2 separate regions of the Homo sapiens genome follow, and region 2 is linked to region 1. Evidence: promoter capture Hi-C in 16 types of primary human blood cells and fetal thymus (Javierre and others, 2016). All regions are on one chromosome and are shown on one strand. The core of a region is centred on a gene start or on the middle of the fragment in contact, and the rest is flanking DNA. Distances in the headings are between cores, read along the strand shown. Region 1 holds the start of MAFK (MAF bZIP transcription factor K). Region 2 overlaps BRAT1 (BRCA1 associated ATM activator 1).

Region 1 (5,141 bases), core at 1,089-3,588:
ACTGTAGGAAAGCGGAAACATGACGAGTCTGTGACTTATAAAAAGCAAAAATAAATAGCGGGGAAAGGCATCTTCCATTCGCGGAGAGCAGGGAGGGTGGGGACGGAGCGGTGAGTCACTGTTTACTGTTGAAAGGCGGCCACACGGAGCCCTCTCTCAGCTGGCCAGATTTCCATTTCCCGTGTGGACTGGACCCGAAACCCAGAAAGTCCACTCCAGAAACCTTTAGACTCAGAAACAGCTGGGACAAGAACAGGCACAACTTCTTCTCCGTCTGGGTGGCAAACAGCTTTGCCAGAGACTGTAAACAAACGCAGCCATCGCTGAGCCCCGTGGGTGAAAGCACACGCCTTGTAGACAGCGAAGTGGCCCGGAAGACGGTCTCCCTTAACAGCAGCCTCCCGGGTGCACACAAAGGCTGGCGCCCCGACAACCCTGACCCTCGGTAAACGCTGGCTCCCGGGTTTACCAGCACCTGGGGAGTCGACGCTGCGGGCAACCAGCCCCTCAAAGCCCTGGCTCGGTTCAAGGATAAAAGGCAGGAGAAGCCTGGTTTTTCTGCTTTAATAAATGTCTTATTTTGGAATAATGAGAGGTCTAGTTTTAAAAGCAGACTCCCTCTCCCAAGGTCAAACTCAGACATTCCTACTGGGTTACCTAAGAAAGGGAGATGTTCTCATAAATGGCACTGGACGCCCAAATAGGGTGTAGGTGTGTCCCAGACACCTGCACAGCCCACCTATGTTCTCCAGACCCCGCCCACGGCTCTTTTAATGCTCCATGTCCCTGAAGACATTGGGTTTGGAGAAGCTGCATAGGGCACCCCACTCTGTGTTGGAGAACCCCTTACAACAACACACCGTGACGGTGAAACCTCAGTGCCAGTAAAGAGACCTGGCAGCCCACCCTGGAGAATCAGAGGGGTGGGAAGGGCGCTGCCAGAGCCGAACCACACAGATATCCCCTAGACCACGATGGGGGGCGGTGGGGGGCGTTTTGAGTCTCAGGATCTTCCCAAGGCCAGGCACCTGGCCAGAGATTGGCTGGCTGCCTGTGGGTCACCTGGTGAATGAATGGTGAGTGGATCTAATTTCTGCCTCAGCTACAAGAGCTACTTAAGAAGCAAGAAAACAGCATGCTCAGGGACGCAGGACACCAGGAGAGGGACACGGGAGGCCCCGCGAACACGGACACACACGGTGTGAGCGCGAGAATGCAGTGCAGGGCCACTGCTGTGTCCCAGGCGGACCCAGGTCAAGGGCCAAGGCCAGGCGGGGTCCTGGCTTTCTGGGTTTCTCGGTGGCGCCTGGTCCCACCCCCCAGGATCTAGAGGCTGTGCAGACGCAGACACACACAGTCACGGGCACATACACAGTTTCCTGAACTTGACAGAGGCACAGAAGAACTCACGCAGTGGGAGCGGGAAGAGGCCGGAGCCCCTGCCCCACACGTGAGCAAAGGGACGAGCCTTGGGGCCACTGTCACCTGCCCCCCTCCCGCCTCCCCACGGCCTTCCTTCCAGCAACCCTGGCAGGTGGGCGGCTGAGAGCGACACCAGTCCCAGGATCCCGCCTGTGGGGAGACCCGGTTACCCCCACCCCGTTCCCGGGCACGCGTGACCCCAGCCACTGGGCCAGAGCGCCGCCCGTCACCGGGAGGAAGCGCGGGGGGCAGTCCGGGGCCGCACGCGGAAGCCACGCTGGGGCGGAAGCCGCGGAGAATCCACGCGCCCGCGCCCTCCCCGCACCGCCCGCACGTGGCGCCCGCCCCGCCCCGCCCCCCGCAGGTGTGAAGGCGCGGGCCCGATGCGCGCCGCCGACCCGCGTGGATCCTCGTCCTCCCAGGTCTGGGGTCCGCGCCCTGGGGCCCCCGGCGCGGCAAGCATGGCCCGGGCGGCACGTGCAGGGGAGAGAGCCTCGCGTCCCGGGGAAGCCCCCGGGCCTGCGGGGCGGGGCCCACCTGGGCAGGTGCCCGGGCCGCGCCGCGGGCCGCATGAGGGTCTCGGGCCCCGCGCACCCAACCCCGCCACCCTCGGCCCGCGCCCCCAGGCGGCCGTGACTCAGCGGCCAGGTAGCCCCGGCCCCGCGCCCCGGTCCCCGTCCCCGCCGCGGCCCGGGCCCCGCTGCCCCACCGCCCCTCACCTGGCGTCGCGCGGAGGGCGCGGGCGCGCGGCGGCTCCTCGCGGGCACGCGCTGTCCTCGCGCCGGCGCTCACTGTCGCGCTCCCCTCGGCCGCCGCCGCCGCCTGGCGCTCGGGCTCCGACTTCGCGAAGAACAACAAGTGCCCCCGCGCCGCCCGCCGCCACCGCACCCGCCCGCCCGGCTCCCCAGCATCTGACACCGCTTCCGGGATCCGCGGCGCGCGCGTCACACCGCCCTGCCCCCCGGGCCACGCCCCCTCCCCGCCCCGCGGCCACGCCCCCCGGCCACGCCCTCCTCTCCCGCCCGGGGGGCCGCTGGCCCCGCGCGCACCTGCAATCCCCGCGCTTTGGGAGGCCCTGCGGGAAGATCTCTGGAGGCCGGGAGTTCAAGACCAGCCTGGGCAACATAGCGAAACCTCCCTTCCCCCATTCTCTGTCTCTATAAACATAAAAAACATTAAGGCCAGCTGGGAACGGTGGCTCATGCCTGTAATCCCAGCACTTTGGGAGGCCAAAGCAGGAGGATCGCTTGAGCCCAGGAGTTCCAGACCAGCCTGGACAACACAGTGAGACCCCCATCTCTACAAAAAAATTACAAAAATTAGTCGGGCGTGGTGGTATGTGCCTGCGGCCCCAGATATTCAGGAGGCTGAGGCAGGAGGATGGCTTGAACCTGGAAGGTGGAGGCTGCCATGATTTCATCACTGCACTCTAGCCTGGGTGACAAGGTGAGACCCTGTCTCAAAAAAACAAAACAAGCAAACCAGCAATGTAAAAATGGGGATAAGCGGCTAGTGATCACAGCCTCTGTGGGTGGGGCCAGCCCCCTTCTAAAGCCCCAGCTGGTGGTTGCCAGGGGACACAGCAGGCCCAGGATGGGGTTAGGGCACCACTGGCCCAAGGAGTCCTGTGAGGGATCCTCAGGTGGGGGCGGGCCCCTGAGGGAGCTGCCTCTGCTTCCTGTCACAGGTGGAGGACAGGCTGGAGAGGGGATCCGTCTGGAGCCCCTTGCCACGCTTCTGGGTCCCCAAGTCCCGCCCCCCTCTGAGCGCTGCAGGAAGAGGAGTTTCAGGCCTGGGCAACCGAGGGCCCCCCAGGACACCCATGGCATCTGCCCGGGGTTCTGGGAAGCCTGTTTTCTCAGCTCAGGTGGGACCCGGGAGCCTGTTTTCTCGGCTCAGGTGGGACTCAGGAGCCAGTGCAGGGAGGTCTGTGCATCTTCTGGGTGTCGTCCTTACCACCATGTGGCTGGGGATTTAGGCAGCAGCCCAGTGGCCTCTTGCTGTGGAGCGCGGGGGCAGCCTCCCGGGCCATCTCTCCCCCCCACTTGCGGGTTCTGCACTGGCCACCTGGGAGGCCCCTCCTTGCTAAGGCCCACACGGCCGTCTGGGGCAGCTAGCCACAGTGATGCCTGCAACCTGGCCGCAGAAACAGGTGCCAAGAAATAACTCAACAGCAGCAGTAGCGACAATGTCCCACGTCCCCAGGATGTTTGCAGAAAGACATCCCCCGGGGATGGGAAAGGTGCTTCCCTTGTCCTGGCCCACACTCTGCACTCGGGGTCCTGGGATGCGCTGGGAGCCTCCAGAGAAGCTGTGGCCATCTCCGCGGGACTCTTTACGTTACTCATGGTGTCGCTCCTCTAACCCAAATGCATTCTTTCCATAGCAGGCTTTTGTTACTAATCACACACTTTTATTATCTCTTTAATTTTTTAATTTGTATTTATTTATTTCTGAGATGGAGTCTCACTCTGTCGTCCAGGCTGGAGTGCAGTGGCACCATCTCGGCTCACTGCAGCCTCCGCCTCCCAGGTTCAAGTGATTCTCCTGCCTCAGCCCCCTCGAGTAGCTGGGATCACAGGTGCCCACCACCACGTCTGGTTAAATTTTGTTTTTGTTCTTGTTGCTGTTTTGAGATGGAGTCTCACTCTGTTGCCAGGCTGGAGTGCAGTAGCACGATCTCGGATCACTGCAAGCTCCGCCTCCCAGATTTAAACAATTCTTCTGCCTCAGCCTCCTGAGTAGCTGGGACTACAGATGCCTGCCACCACGCCCGGCTAATTTTTTTTTTTTTTGTATTTTTAGTAGAGACGGGTTTCACCATGTTAGCCAGGATGGTCTCAATCTCTTGACCTTGTGATCTGCCTGCCTCGGCCTCCCAAAGTGCTGGGATTACAGGCGTGCGCCACCACACCGGCTGATTTTTGTATTTTTCGTAGAGACGGTTTCACCATGTTGGCCAGGCTGGTCTCGAACCCCTGACCTCAGGTGATCCACCCGCCCTGGCCTCCCAAAGTGCTGGGATTACAGGCGTGAGCCACTGCATCCAGCCTAATTTTTAAAATTTTGAATTATTTATTTATGTTTGTTTTATGAGACAACATCTCACTGTCGCCCAAACTGGAGTTCACTGGTGCAATCACAGTTCCCTGTAGCCTCCACCTCCCAGGTTCAAGTGATCCTCCCACCTCAGCCTCCTAAGTAGCTGGGACCAAGGGCTGGTGCTACCACGCTTGGCTAATTTTCTTTGTTTTTTTTTGTAGAGACAGGATCTTGCTCTGTTGCCTAGGCTGGTCTTGAACTCCTGGGCTCAAGTGATCCTCCCGCCTCGTCCTCTCAACGTGTTGGGATTACACGCATGAGCCACTGTGCCTAGCCAAAGTTTACTTTTTATTGTGGTAAAGTAAACATCACATAGAATTTACCATTTTAACCATTTTTTTTAAGTTAAAAAAATATTTTTTCAGAGATAGGGTCTTGCTACGTTGGTCAGGTTGGTCTTGAACTCCTGGCCTCAAGCAATCCTCCTACCTCAGCCTCCCAAAGTGCTAAGATCACAGGTGTGATTAGGTGAATAGGCTGGGCATGGTGGCCATCACACTAGGCCAAGTTAACCATTCTAAGTGTACGGTTCGGTGGCGTTAAGTACATTCACGTTGTGGTACAAACATTGCCATCATCCATCTCCAGAAATTTTTCATCATTTAGTAGTTCCTTTT
Region 2 (5,141 bases), core at 1,980-4,479, 1.0 Mb before region 1:
TGGGAGGCCAAGGCGGGTAGGTCACTTGAAGTCAGGAGTTCGAAACCAGCCTGGCCAACATGGTGAGACCTCGTCTCTACTAAAAATAAAAAAATTAGCCGGGCATGGTGGCATGCGCCGTAATCCCAGCTACTTGGGAGACTGAGGGGGAGGATCGCTTGAACCCAGGAAGCGGAGGTTGCAGTGAGCCCAGATCGTGCCACTGCACTCCAGCGACAGAATGGACTCTGTCTCAAAAAAATAGTGTCAGTCGAGCGCGGTGGCTCAAGCCTGTAATCCCAGCACTTTGGGAGACCGAGGCAGGCAGATCACGAGGTCTGGAGATCAAGACCCTCCTGGCTAACATGGTGAAACCCCGTCTCTACTAAAAATACAAAAAAAAAAAAAATAGCCAGACGTGGTGGTGGGCGCCTGTAGTCCCAGTTACTTGGGAGGCTGGGCAGGAGAATGGCGTGAACACAGGAGGCAGAGCTTGCAGTGAGCCGAGATCACGCCACTGCACTGCAGCCTGGGCGACAGAGCGAGATTCCGTCTCAAAAAAAAAAAAATAGTGTCATAATGGCTTTCCTTTTACATAAATATTCTCGCATGTAAATGTTTATTCTCATGGTTGATAATTGCATTGGGATAGACTGCATGTTGTTAATTTCTGCTATTCTTTACTTCCTTTTTTTGGTTTACCGTGTTCTTTTATTCTTTTTATTTTTAAATTATATTGTATTTTTTTTTTTAAGGATGGGGTCTCACCGTATTGCCCAAGCTGTTTTCGATCTCCTGGGCTCAGGCAGTCACCTGCCTCTGCTTCCCAAAGTGCCTTTTACCCTCTTTGAGCTAAATATCTAGGTCTTCCTTGTTTTCTAATATATATATTTAAGGCCAGGCACGGTGGTTCATGCCTATAATCCCAGCACTTTGGGAGGCTGAGGCAGGCAGATCACTTGAGGTCAGGAGTTGGAGACCAGCCTGGCTAACATGGTGAAACCCCGTCTCTACTAAAAATACAAGAATTAGCCTGACATGGTGGTCCATGCCTGTAATCCCAGCTACTCGGGAGGCTGAAGCAGGAGAATCACTTGAACCTGGGAGGCAGAGGTTGCAGTGAGCCGAGATAACGCCATTGCACTCCAGCCAGGGCAATGGAGTGAGACTCTTGTCTCAAAAAAAAAAAAAAAAAAAAAAAAAAAATATATATATATATATATATATATATTTAAGACTATGCATTTCTCTAAAAGTATGACTTTAGCTACATCTTACACGTTTTACATTGCAGTACTTTGGTTTTAATTTAGTTCTGAGTATTTTATGCTTTTCATTATAATTTTTTTTTCACCCACAAGTTACTTAAAAGAGTATCCTTTAGTTTCAAAATATGGATTTTTCCAGTCTTTTTATTATTGATTTTTAATTTACTTTGTGGAGGTTAGAAAACATAACATATGTTTTGAATCTTTATAGCTGTTGAGACTTTTATTGAGACATAGGACCCAGGCGAGTTTTCTCAATGTTCTAGAGATTTCACTATATGATTTTGATGTTTTGGTATTTGAAGGTCTTCAACTGTGGCCTAGTTTGTAGTAGTCAGTTTTTCTTTTTCTTTTTTTTTTTTTTTGAGCCAGGGTTTTTGCGCGTCACCCAGGATGGAGTGCAATGGCGTGAACACGGCTCACTGCAGCCTTGACCTCCTGGGCAGTCCGCCTGCCTCATTCTCTTGAGTTCCTGGGATCAAGGTGTGTACCAGGCCCAGCTATTTTTTTTTTTCCCATAGAGATGAGGTCTCACCATCTTGTCCAGGCCAGCTTGGAACTCCTGGGCTCAAGCAGTCTTCCCGCCTGGGCTTCCCAAAGTGCTGGGATTACAGGAGCGAGCCACCATGCCTGGCCTGTATTTAAATTTTAAGAAGTATTTTTCAGTAGCTTTATTGAGATATAATTTGCATACCATGCCATTCTCCCATTTAAGGTGTACCAGATCCTTTTACAGTTTGTAAGCATGAGATATATATATATCTATATATAGATATATATATAGATATAGATTTTTTTTTTTTTGAGACCAAGTCTTGCTCTGTTGCCCAGGCTGGGGTGCAATGGCACAATCTTGGCTCACTGCAACCTCCGCCTCCTGGGTTTCAAACGATTCTCCTGCCTCAGCCTCCTGAGTACCTGCGATTAAAGGTGCATGCCACCATGCCCGGCCAATTTTTGTATTTTTAGTAGAGGTGGGATTTCATCATGTTGGCCAGGCTGGTCTCGAACTCCTGACCTCAGGTGATCCCTCCACCTTGGCCTCCCAAAGTGCTGGGGTTACAGTGGAGAGCCACTGCACCCAACCTAAGCATGATAATTGAGTGTTCAGGCGCATGTGTGAGATGTGGCACCATGGAACCCTGGTATGATGTCGGTACGTGACCCGTCTGACATGAGAAATGGACAAAATAAATAAATAAATGGTACCAATTCAACAGTTCTTAGTAAATTTACAGGGCTCTGAAATCATCAGCACAATCTAATTTTGTTCCCCCTAAAGAAACCGAGTCTGGGTTCACAGTGAGTCCCTGTTTCCTCCTCCCTCCCAGCCTCTGTCATTTCTCCTGCATTGTACTTGATGGAAAGAGTGTAGTTTCCACACTCGTTCATTAGTTCAGACCTGCTATGTTCTTGCTAATTTGTTTGCTTGTTTCTGAGAGGTGTGTAAAAAGCTTACACCAAGATCATGGATTCATGATTTTTCTTTGAGATGCATCCTTTTTTTTTTTTTCGCTTTACATATTATTTTTTTCTTTTTCTTTTCTTTCTTTTTTTTTTTTTGTTTTTTTTTTTTTGAGATGGAGTCTTGCTCTATTGCCCAGGCTGGAGTGCAGTGGCATGATCTCGGTTCACTGCAGCCTCGACTTCTTGGGCTCAGATGATTCTCTCACCTCAGCCTCCCTAATAGCTGGGACCACAGGAGCCCGCCACCACGCCCGGCTAAGTTTTTGTATTTTTTGTAGTGACGGGGTTTCACTATGTAGCCCAGGCTGGTCTCAAACTCCTGGGCTCAAGCAGTCTGCCCGCCTTGGCCTCTCAAATCGCTGCAATTACAGGTGTGAGGCACTGTGCCTGGCATTTTTTTTTTCTTTTTTTTTTGGAGACAGGGTCTCACTCTGTCACTCAGGCTAGAGTGCAGTGGTGTGATCACGGCTCACTGTAGCCTCAACTTCCTGGGCTCAAGTGATCCTCCCACCCCAGCCTCCTGGATGGCTGGGACTACAGGGACACACCACCACACCCAGCTAATTTTTTGTATTTTTTTGCGGAGACGGGGTTTCACCACGTTGCCCAGGCTGCTTTACACGTTTTGAAGTGAGGTTAGGTATACATAGATGTAGGAATGTTGTGTCTTTCTGGAATTTATCTCCGTGATCAGTTAACTTACTTCTGCATGAATACTGCTTTTTGCTTTACAGCCCATTTTGTTTGCTATTTCTGTTGCTACATCAGCTTCTTTAAAGTTAGAATTTGCCTACTGTGTCTTTTCTCTCCTGCTCCCAGCCTTTCCTGTCGTTGCATTTTATTGCTTTTAGAAACACCACATTGCTTGTTTTTAGTGTTTAATTTAATCTCAGCAACTCTTTCTTTTAACAGATAAGTTTGATCTCTTTAATTTGTTGAGGCGACTGTTAGATTTGAATTCTTTTGTATTTTTTAATTTCCTGTGCCTTACCTTTGTGCCTTTATCCTCCTTTTCTGCCCTCCATCAGATTGATAAAGCTTTTTTTTTTCTTTTAAATCTTTCCTCTTCTGGTTTTGAAGTTATACATTCTATTTATGTTCTTCTTTTTAGACAAGTTCTTGTGCTGTTGTCCAGGACAGTGGTGTAATCACGGCTCACTGCAGCCTTGACCTCCTGGGCTCAGGTGATCTTCCCATCTCAGCTTCCAGTGTAGCTGGGACTATAGATGCGCGCCACCATGCCCAGCGAATTTTTATAGAGAGGGGATCTTCCTGTGTTGCCCAAGCTGGTCTTAAAACTCCTGGGCTCAGGCAATCTGCCCACCTCGGCCTCTCAAGATGCTGGGACCACAGGCTTATTTGTGTTCTTCAGTGGCTACCCTTATATTTTTAACATGAGAACCGGATTTTTTAAAAAGTCTGAAGTTAATTAGACTTTCCATTCTCTATCCAGGCAACCGAAGGACCTCAGAGCACTTGAACTTCAGGCCATCACAACCTTCTATTATTGTCGTTAGTATTTTAATTCTGTTTTGTTTCAAAACCCTTCAACAATGATTTTTTAGATTTTGAACTCAGTGGCATTGTTTTTTGTTTGTTTGTTTGTTTGTTTTTGAGACAGAGTCTTGCCCTGTCACCAGGCTGGAGTGCAGTGGTGCGATCTCGGCTCACCGCAACCTCCACCTCCCGAGTTCAAGCAGTTCTCCTGCCTCAGCCTCCCAAATAGCTGGGACCACAGGCGCCCGCCACCATGCCTGGCTAATTTTTTATATTTTAGTAGAGACAGGGTTTCATTCACCATGTTTGCCAGGATGGTCTCAATCTCCTGACCTCGTGATCTGCCTGCCTTGGCCTTCAAAAGTGCTGGGATTACAGGCGTGAGCCACCACGCCCCGCCTTTTTTTTTTTTAGAGAGACAGGGTCTCCCTCTGTCGCCCAGGCTGGAGTACAGTGGTGCAGTGATAGCTTGCTGCAGCCTCGAACTCCTGGGCTCAAGCAATCCTCCCGTCTCAGCCTCCTGAGTAGCTGGGACTGCAGATGTGTGCCACCATGCCGGGCTAATTTTTTTTTATTTTTTGTAGAGACAGGGTCTTGCTATGTTGTTCTCCTGCCTTGGCCTCCCAAAGTGCTGGGACTACAGGTATGAGCACCTCACCCAGCCTGCAGTGCTGATTCAGGTGGACATAGTGCTTTTTGGGTCCTGGCCTGGTTCTCCTCCTCTGCATGCTCCTCACTCTCCTTACTGAACCACATTCTTTCCACAGGGGCTTCTCACTGGGAAACTCTCCCAACCTTTGCCTCAAAATGTCTTTTTCCCCCACTGGTGCTTTTGAGCGATAGCATAGCTGGTTATAGAAATACAGGATGCCAGTTCTGGAGAGGAATGTTTGTTCCATTGTACCTGCTTGCATGGAGCACTGTCTAAGG

Evidence for each region. Contacts are between HindIII fragments. The CHiCAGO score rates a contact against its expected background, and 5 or more counts as called.
Region 2: a contact is called between a fragment that was not itself captured here and the fragment with the promoter of MAFK in region 1, in 1 of 17 cell types (naive CD4 T cells). The highest score is 5.7, in naive CD4 T cells.

What each region holds. Positions count from the first base shown.
Region 1 is chr7:1,527,899-1,533,039 of GRCh38, reverse strand. It overlaps MAFK (MAF bZIP transcription factor K), which reads right to left and starts at 2,338. Exons shown (of 3, transcript NM_002360.4): 1 at 2,142-2,338. It overlaps LOC100128653 (a long non-coding RNA gene), which reads left to right. Exons shown (of 1, transcript NR_149036.1): 1 at 1-587. RefSeq lists enhancers at 1-227, 153-302 and silencers at 1,619-1,748, 2,239-2,508. The HindIII fragment of the contact is 17,285 bases long and covers 1-5,141 here.
Region 2 is chr7:2,548,151-2,553,291 of GRCh38, reverse strand. All of the region lies in intron 2 of BRAT1 (BRCA1 associated ATM activator 1), which reads left to right. It also overlaps the pseudogene LOC124901849. Among named protein-coding and RNA genes, the nearest start is that of BRAT1, 4.8 kb to the left of the region's middle. The HindIII fragment of the contact is 1,051 bases long and covers 2,704-3,754 here.